Linked DNA regions of Homo sapiens: regions 2 and 3 are each linked to region 1. Evidence: promoter capture Hi-C in human tissues and cell types (Jung and others, 2019). All regions are on one chromosome and are shown on one strand. The core of a region is centred on a gene start or on the middle of the fragment in contact, and the rest is flanking DNA. Distances in the headings are between cores, read along the strand shown.

Region 1 (2,711 bases), core at 141-2,640:
AGACTGGATAAAGAAAATGTGGTATATATACACCATGGAATACCATGCAGCCATAAAAAGGAACAGGATCATATCCTTTGCAGGGACAGGGATGGAGCTGGAGGCATTATCCTCAGCAAACTGGCAAAGGAACAGAAAACCAAACACCGCATGTTCTCACTTATAAATGGGAGCTGAACAGTGAGAACACATGGACACAGGGAGGGGAACAACACATATTGGGGCCAGTTGGGGGAGTGCGGGGTGGAGAGAGCATCAGGAAAAATAGCTAATGCATGCCGGGCTTAATACCTAGGTGAAGGAAGGGTTGATAGGTGCAGCAAACCAGCATGGCACATGTTTACCTATGTAACAAACCTGCATATCCTGCACATGTATCCCGGAACTTAAAATTTTTAAAAATCGTCAATAATAACAATGAAAGCAGCTAACGTTTTTGGGTACTTGCTATGTTCCAAACACCGAACTAAGCTCCTTACATGCATTATCTCATTTAATACTCCCCAAACTTCCATGATGGCAATAGTATCCTGGTCCCTGTTTTGCAGATGAGACACTAAGGCACACAGAGGTTAAATAACTTGCCCAAGATCACACAGCTAGTAAGTAGTAAGATTCAAACCCAGACCCAGACCGTGCTGTCAATCAGTATACTTTGTGACCACCTAGTGACATCACAGGAACCACACTTCCATCACCTATTTTAATGCCCTGAATGTTCATCCTAATAAATGCACATTAGACTTGAGTGGGTAAAAATTCTGAATGTACTGAGTCTTCTACCTTGGGCCAATCCTTCTCTTCAAAATGAACCTGCATGGGAATCAATGCTGAAAGTGGAAAGAGACCCCAGACAGGCCTGGCATCTGTATGCATAAGACAGAAAACCATCTCCCTGCACCCCTACTCCCAGTTAAAAGGCTGTGGGCATCTTTGAGCCAATGAATGGGCTGCTACAAAGAATTCTGGGAATCCCAACCCCTCACAGTTCTGCAACTCACAGTCCTGCAAAAGGTGGGTACTAGAATAGGGAGGTGGGCATATAGGCCAAATACTCTGTTCTGCCTTCCAGGAGGGAAAAAGCATGCTACCCAGGAAGCTCACAAGTGACATGTGGCCCATGGGCATACCAGGGCTAAAGTGAAGGATGGACTGCTCTGTGGAAGGAAGGAGTGAAAGTGAACAAGAGGCATAGGGCCACCTGCAGGAAGACTGAGAGGAGGGAAGGAGGAAGGCTGGCTTTGGCAGGGAGGGGAGGCAGGAGCAGAGGGAGCCAGAGGATCGGTTCAGGCAGTGAGAGAGGGCAGCCCCACTCTATTTCCCAGGCTGCTCTCTGGATGCAGGCAGGAAGGTTGAGTGTATTACACTGGCCCCACCTCCAGAGGCTCTCTCTGCAGCCGCTGGACTGGACACAAAGCGTGAGAGACAGAGACACCATCTCTGCTGATTTGTACCTAACTGGTTCCTGTTGCTGAGAGCCCACGTGTCACAGAAGCCAGGGCAGAGGCCCCACACTGCTGTCTGCATTTCCCAGGTAAGCAACCGTCTGTGTGTGAGCCAGGAGTGGAGAGCAAGGCCTGAAGGCGGTGAGCAGAGAAGAAAGTAGGAGGCGGCTGCCTAGGATGGACTTCAGTACAATCTGGAAAGAATGAAGGAAAGAAGAGGGGTATGGGCTGGGGTTGCAACAAGCCCTTAGGGTAGGCTTCTGCAGAGTGTTGATGGATGTATGAGGTTGGGGAGTCAAAGGCTGCATTTGGTCCACTCTTGGCTGGCAAGTGCAGAGGAAGTTCCAGCAAAGGACTGCTCTGACAGCCTCTGGGGACTAGCACATCTGGGGAGCAGAGAGGCCCGCCATACCATGGCATCAGTGTTCCTCTTTCAGACCAGGTATATTTGTGCAGACTTTGCCAGAAAATCCCTCCCTGTGCCCCTGCCTGCCTCCAGGTCTTCCTGGTGGTCGAGAGCATGCGTGTGGCAGCGACAGGAGGAAGAAAGCAGGACATATTCACTGGGGATATGGCTTCAGATGGAGGAGGGATACCTCATCTGAAAAGAGAGTCTCCTGACGGGCTCTGGAGAGGAGATTGGTTAGCTAGTGGAGGGCTGTGTGCCACCCTAAGGAGGCTCCCCTGTGGCCCAGAGGAAAAGAATGACACACAGACTGTGGAAAATGGGGTATTTGTGCTGGAGGTGGGGTGGGGAGCGGGTAAAGTCAGTGATCTGTGAACAGTGCCACAGAAACAGGCAGTATGTTGTCGTAAAGAGGGAAAGAGACCTAAGACATGTGTTTCATACAAATCCAGCATCCCTTTGCTGTCCCTGCTGGGGGACCTACAGCCCCGGATCAAGCCTGCTGGTCTGAGCAAGTTCTATGAGGTTGGCTAGTGGTATGTCCCCTCTATGAACTACACATTCACTCCCTAAGATCCACTATGCTGAAAATATGTCAGATCTGGGCTCCTGTCAAAAGGCATGCCAGCTACCCTCTGCCATGTGATGGGTGAGGGAAGCAGTGAGAGAAGAGGAGTGGTCCCTGGGCTTTAGGGCACAAAGAGACGTGAGATGCTGAATTCCAGTCACAACTGCAATGTGTCCTCCCTCCATCCATGGCTTCTGTATCCAGAGCAGAAAGTGAGGATTCCTCCATACTGCTCCCTCTTCATACACACAGGGTAACTGGGCTCATGATCAGGCAGAAACCAGGGAAGAAC
Region 2 (2,711 bases), core at 94-2,593, 320 kb after region 1:
GGCAGACTTTAATCCTTCTTTCCAAGAAGACGGAAGAGGAGCTGGAAGTCCCTCTTTTGGAGCCAGAGCTGCCTTTCCTTTCATTGCACCATGAGAATCCAGACAGGGCCCAGATGCTTGAGAAAATACCCCATGCTTCTGTAAAATTTCCTCAAGAACAGTCCAGCCACATGTGACAGAAAGCTTTCTTTTTGTGGGGGACAAAGGTGACTGCACACAATGGAATTAACATGTGCACAAGGGGACAAGGGACACTGGAATTACCTTGATCACCAGCCCATTTTAGAGTCACAAACTATGCTCAATGTGGTTTTCTTTTGAAGGGTCTCTCATGGCTGAGGAAGCAGTGGACACAGTCCAGTTCCAGGGTCTGGGAGATCCTACACTCCTAGCACAGCTGGGAGTGTATCTTGTACCTCTCCTTAAGAGAGAGAGAGCCCTCCACTATCCCCACCCCCACCAGGCCACTTGAGAAACATCTGGTAATTTTTATCCCACCTGTTTTTCTGCCAGAAAGGATAAGAGACAGCAGCTGACAGTGCTTGAAGAGAAGCTTGGGGAGAAGCACTGTCAGCTTCCCTGTGTTTCTAAACATTTAGAAGGGCAAACCCTTCCAAGGGTGATCTCTTTCTAAACACTTGGAAGGGCAAACCCTTGGAGGGAAAACCACTCAGAAGGGTAAACGTATGAAGATACTGTGTTCCTTTTGCAGCTGCCATCAATGACAGAAGCTCCTGAAAGCTCTCCTGCCTCACTACACAGTGTAGCTAGCCTTGCTTAGCCTAAAGATGAGGCTTCCACTTGTACTCAGAGAGACTTGAGGGATGGCTCTGAGAATTCTGTTGTGCCTCCTGGAAGAGGCTGAAGCTGCTCAGGGTGAACAAGGTACAGACAGAGCCCTGAGGCTGTCATTCATCCTACTGGGACACTCTATACACCGGGTTAGGAAAAAGGCCCTGAAAGCATCCCATTTCCTAGTTAATCCCAGGAGGGCTAGAAGAGCCCTTTCCTTGGCTAGATTCCACAGGAAATGTCAGAATGTGATTGAAAACTGGCTAGAGCTGGATCCATGTGCAGGGGGGAAAAAAATCCCACAAATATTATGAACATGATTTTGTTGCCTGAATGGTTTAAGACTGTTTTCCTAGGTATGTTATCAAGGAAAGTTTGGAAAGCCTTTCCTTTTGGAGATTACACATATTATTAGGTTTGTGCAAAAGCATGGTTCTGGCATCCCTGGAAGAGCTCTCGTTTACACCTGCTATGAATAGAAAACCTCACCATGCCTAGGATTCCGTGATCCTCAACTTTGCTCTACCCTCTGCATCTTTCTTTCAAGCTGCTTCCTTGATTGACACACTCAAGAAAGAAAGGGCCCATAAGCTGTTCCTGGGTCCATTGCTGAATGCATGGAAACACTGTCCACACTGTGAGTGCCTGCCCATGCTTACTCATCTCTAGGAAAGGAATTCCTAGGGCCTCTGACTTCTCCCTCCTGACGCTCCCTACTCCTGCTTCCCCCGTTCTGCCACTCAGGTCACGTGAGCTGGAGCTGCAAGGCGCTCAGGAGCTCTGCTGGGGGCGACTGGGGAGCAGATTTCCAGCGGGGGCATTCTTTGGCATCACCCTGCATGTTGCATTTCTGGAAAGGGCTTCAAATCAACTGGAGTCTCCAGGAAGAGGGGAAGGAAGGGAATCAAATATGAAAAGAGTCACTTACGCCAGAGCAAAGGCCACCAATGCGCCAACGACCACCACAAAGTCCAGGATGTTCCACAAGTCTCGGAAGTAGGACCCATCCTGCAGGATCAAGCCTTGGTCTATCATCTGCAGAAGGATATGAACAGCCACAGTGAGCCAAGAAAGTGTGGGCAACACTTGACCTGAGCTCTGTTCATCATGGCAGTGCCCCCACTGCCACTGTCTCCACAACCAACCCTATGCTAGGACCTGGAGAATGAGAGGTTAGGTCCAGCAGGCTTTCTCCACATAACTGAGTCCTGAGGCCCCCATCTCATAGTCACCCAGGGTTCACTAGACTCCTTGGTTGTCACAGAACCCTGACACATTCCTCCTTTCATTTATGGCTCAGAGCACTGGGCATTGCCACATATGCACAGATGGGTAAAATCCTGGATGGATGAGGCTGGGAACAAGACAGACTATGGAGTGTTGTGGTGGCTGGGACTAGATGAAGCCCAGGAAGACTCATCTCTACCTAGCCCTTTGCCTTGGCACACACCCAGGCTCAGCCAAGACAAGCACTGGGGAGGGGAGTGCAGGCCCCAACCCTGTCTGCACATCTGTTGCCTGCCTCCTACTTGGGCCATGTCCACAGGCCTGCAGCAGTACAAACACATCCACGCAGCCGTGTCTTGCTGAGACAGATTTCTTCAGGATTCTGAGGCCAGAGAAGGGGCGGCAGAAGCTCTACTGAGGGCTGCCATTGGCTGGTAGGTGGTAACACTGAGGAAGGGCTCTAGCCTAAGGAGCAGACAGGTGACCCATCTAAACCCAAGAGCCCAGGTTTTCTCTAGAAGTTTTTACCTTTATAACCATCTCAAAGGTGAACACGCCCGTGAACACATAGTCAAAATACCTCAGGACCTGAAAGACACATATGGTGGAAGGAAATGACCATGTGTGGCCAACAGGCTACTACATGAGCTCCCACCTGCCAGGACACATGCACTCGTGCACGCCCACCCTGG
Region 3 (2,711 bases), core at 212-2,711, 300 kb after region 1:
CTGTGGTATAGACTAGAACACTGGTATATGGTATAGAATAGTACAGTGCAGTGTAGACTAGATTATTGTGAGCTTTGAAGTCAGATAGAACAGGGTCTGAATCCTGGCCCTACCTCTTACTAATCTTGGCCAAAGTATTCAACCTTTCTGAGCTCCAGCTCATCCATAAAAAGGAGAAAATAAGAATGCTTATTTAATATATTGTTATGGAGAGAAAAGCAATATGTAAAGCATTTGGTACTTAATAGCCAACCAATTGTTGTTACATCTTTCCCTCTTTTTCTTTTTCCCTTCCCTTTTTATTCCCATTTAGCCTTGCAATTCTATTGCCTTTCATTGTGTAATCTTTAAGAAGCTATACAATTTTTCTGAACTTCAATTTCCTCATTTAAAATAACAACAACAATAATGGCAATTATGATAGTGACATCTGCCATGCCTATTTCAGAGTCACTGAGAAGATCTAACGAAATAGTATATATTACAATATTCTGAAAGCTTAGAGTGCCTTAACAATGTAAAGACTTATCAGAATTAGTGGTACCTTTTACAGAGTGAAAATCCCTCTAGACCTTGAATGAAAACATGGGGGTAGGGTGGGAAGGAGGCAGGCTTCAAGGGCCGAATCTAGTTAAGGCTGTGAGTATATATTCAGCACTCACCATAATTAGACACATAATGGGACTTAAGTCACAGACAATGTCAATACCACATACAAGTAATCAACATGCATAGAAAAAATTTCCCTGTTGTGGTGCTTGCGTCTCCCTCTCTCTCAGCTCCCCCTGCTCAGGGCTAGACTGTATTATAAAGGCATCTTTGTTGGTAGTAGTTTCTTTTACTTTTTTATTTCCCCAAGTCTCAAAACACTCAAAAGGGAGCCAGGCAAACACAATGCAGCCAACTGCAATTGGTTCCCTTAAACTCTCCACCCAAAATGATCAAATTAATGGTTTTTCAAAGAACCGCTGGGAGACCAAAAGCAGCCCCCGTAATCAACACTCACAATTATCGAACCCAGCCCAGAGTCTCTGTTAAAGCTGCTACCAGACAAACACTTATTCAGATAATGAGCAAAGTTCTCCTCCTTGCAGGGAAAGCCATACACACATGTAATTTGAAATGGTAGCTCACGTCCTAAGTAAGTGTGAAACAGCTGTCACATGGGCTTGCATCCCACTGAACTTGCTGCACACAATGAAGCAGGTTGGGGGGAGGGTGGCCAAGGGGATTATCTTGTTTATAGGGCACTGAAGCCAAGGGCTGGATTTTCTTAACACTCTTGAGGACAGATGCAAGAATTTGCCCAACAATTATAATTATTAATAGTAGTTGAGGAGAAGAAAAAAGAGGGCTCATGGCAGAAAAATTCATCATCCCCAAACCTCCTCAAACTTAATTCCAGAATCCTTCCCCTTGCACTCCATACACACACACACACACACACACACACACACAGACACACCCCTTAAAGGTCATTAGCCTTTATAGGCATAAGTAATAAACACCTATTTTCTTTGGCAGAAATTACTCTTCATGTTACTAATGGCAGAAGGACTAATAGGTAAAAATCTATTATTTGCTATGTTTGAGGCTAAGAGAGATAGTTATTTTCCCATTTGTGTTATAAAACTGTTATACCTTTTACCAGTAAATAAGCACTCGAAGTTTATTAGTCCAATCTTTGGCTTCCTCCTTCATCTACACATAAATTGCAGTTCTAGTGAAACTCAATGATGGCCGCCTCTGGACTGCTGACAGAATTTCACAGGACCAGGCTGATGGCTGTGGCTTCCTTTGCCCTTTCTCCCAGCTTCCTCACACATCATCTTGTCTCTACGGCAGTTTACTGAGCAGTCAAAACGAGCCCACATCTAGGTGGGTGATTTCTGGAATAGCAGTAACCACCTCCCCTTCAACAAAGACTGGGAAGGCACCCAACAGAAAGAGACAAGCCCAGTGCTGGGAAGGATTCAGCAACATACCAAAAAGCCAAAAGCGATGACCTTCAGGACACATTCCAGGGAAAACACCATGGTGAAGGCGATATTCAGGTACTTCAGGGCCAGCTCATAGGTACAGGGAGCAGAATAATACTGCCAGGAAGAAAAAAGAAGAGAGAAAGAATCACAGCCTTAAGGTAAGAGGGGGAATACATGTCACTGAGGTTGGCCATCTCTCATTCCTGCCCTGTGGGACACTCTGGTGTGTGGTACAGGAGGAGAGATGGACTTCGAGTGCTGGAGAGGAGAACCACATATTCTACCCAACAAAACAAAGGAAAACACAGACCCACGCCCCACCAGACTTAATAGCAAAACAGCCAGTCTTCCTAGAGATGAGGGTGGGCAGGGAAGAAACATTTTCTAGAGTTAGTTACTGGAGTTAGTCATTTAATATTAAATAGGATGAGCCTCTCTGAATACTCCAAGGCTCCTTTAGACCCCGTGATGATGGATCTCTGTCTCCTGATTTTTCCACCCTTGTCTGAAGCTGCCTCCCATTGCCATCTCAGGTCTTGGGAGCCCCTGGATGGCTACTATAGTCTGCACTGCATTTTGCTCAGTGGACCCCCAAAGCCCCAGAGGTTGGGTTATTGAACAAAATAAGATCACAAAAGGATTCAATGATGGAAAAGTAGGTAAAGCAGTGATGGGCTGGGATGTTGGGGTGTCTTCCCACTTGCCCTGGGAGGGAACCATCGCTGGGGC

What was found. The method cuts DNA at HindIII sites, captures the fragments that hold promoters and counts their contacts. A contact is called where the count stands out against the background at its distance.
Region 2: a contact is called between a fragment that was not itself captured here and the fragment with the promoter of ZNF648 in region 1, in 1 of the 25 tissues and cell types used here (H1 embryonic stem cells).
Region 3: a fragment that was not itself captured here is called in contact with the fragment with the promoter of ZNF648 in region 1 in 1 of the 25 tissues and cell types used here (stomach).

What each region holds. Positions count from the first base shown.
Region 1 is chr1:182,060,391-182,063,101 of GRCh38, reverse strand. ZNF648 (zinc finger protein 648) reads left to right here and starts at 1,390. Exons shown (of 2, transcript NM_001009992.1): 1 at 1,390-1,534. The HindIII fragment of the contact is 24,066 bases long and covers 1-2,711 here.
Region 2 is chr1:181,738,263-181,740,973 of GRCh38, reverse strand. It overlaps CACNA1E (calcium voltage-gated channel subunit alpha1 E), which reads right to left. Exons shown (of 48, transcript NM_001205293.3): 24 at 2,548-2,607; 25 at 1,721-1,827. Among named protein-coding and RNA genes, the nearest start is that of CACNA1E, 260 kb to the right of the region's middle. The HindIII fragment of the contact is 3,560 bases long and covers 1-2,711 here.
Region 3 is chr1:181,758,143-181,760,853 of GRCh38, reverse strand. It overlaps CACNA1E (calcium voltage-gated channel subunit alpha1 E), which reads right to left. Exons shown (of 48, transcript NM_001205293.3): 32 at 1,986-2,096. Among named protein-coding and RNA genes, the nearest start is that of CACNA1E, 280 kb to the right of the region's middle. The HindIII fragment of the contact is 4,258 bases long and covers 1-2,711 here.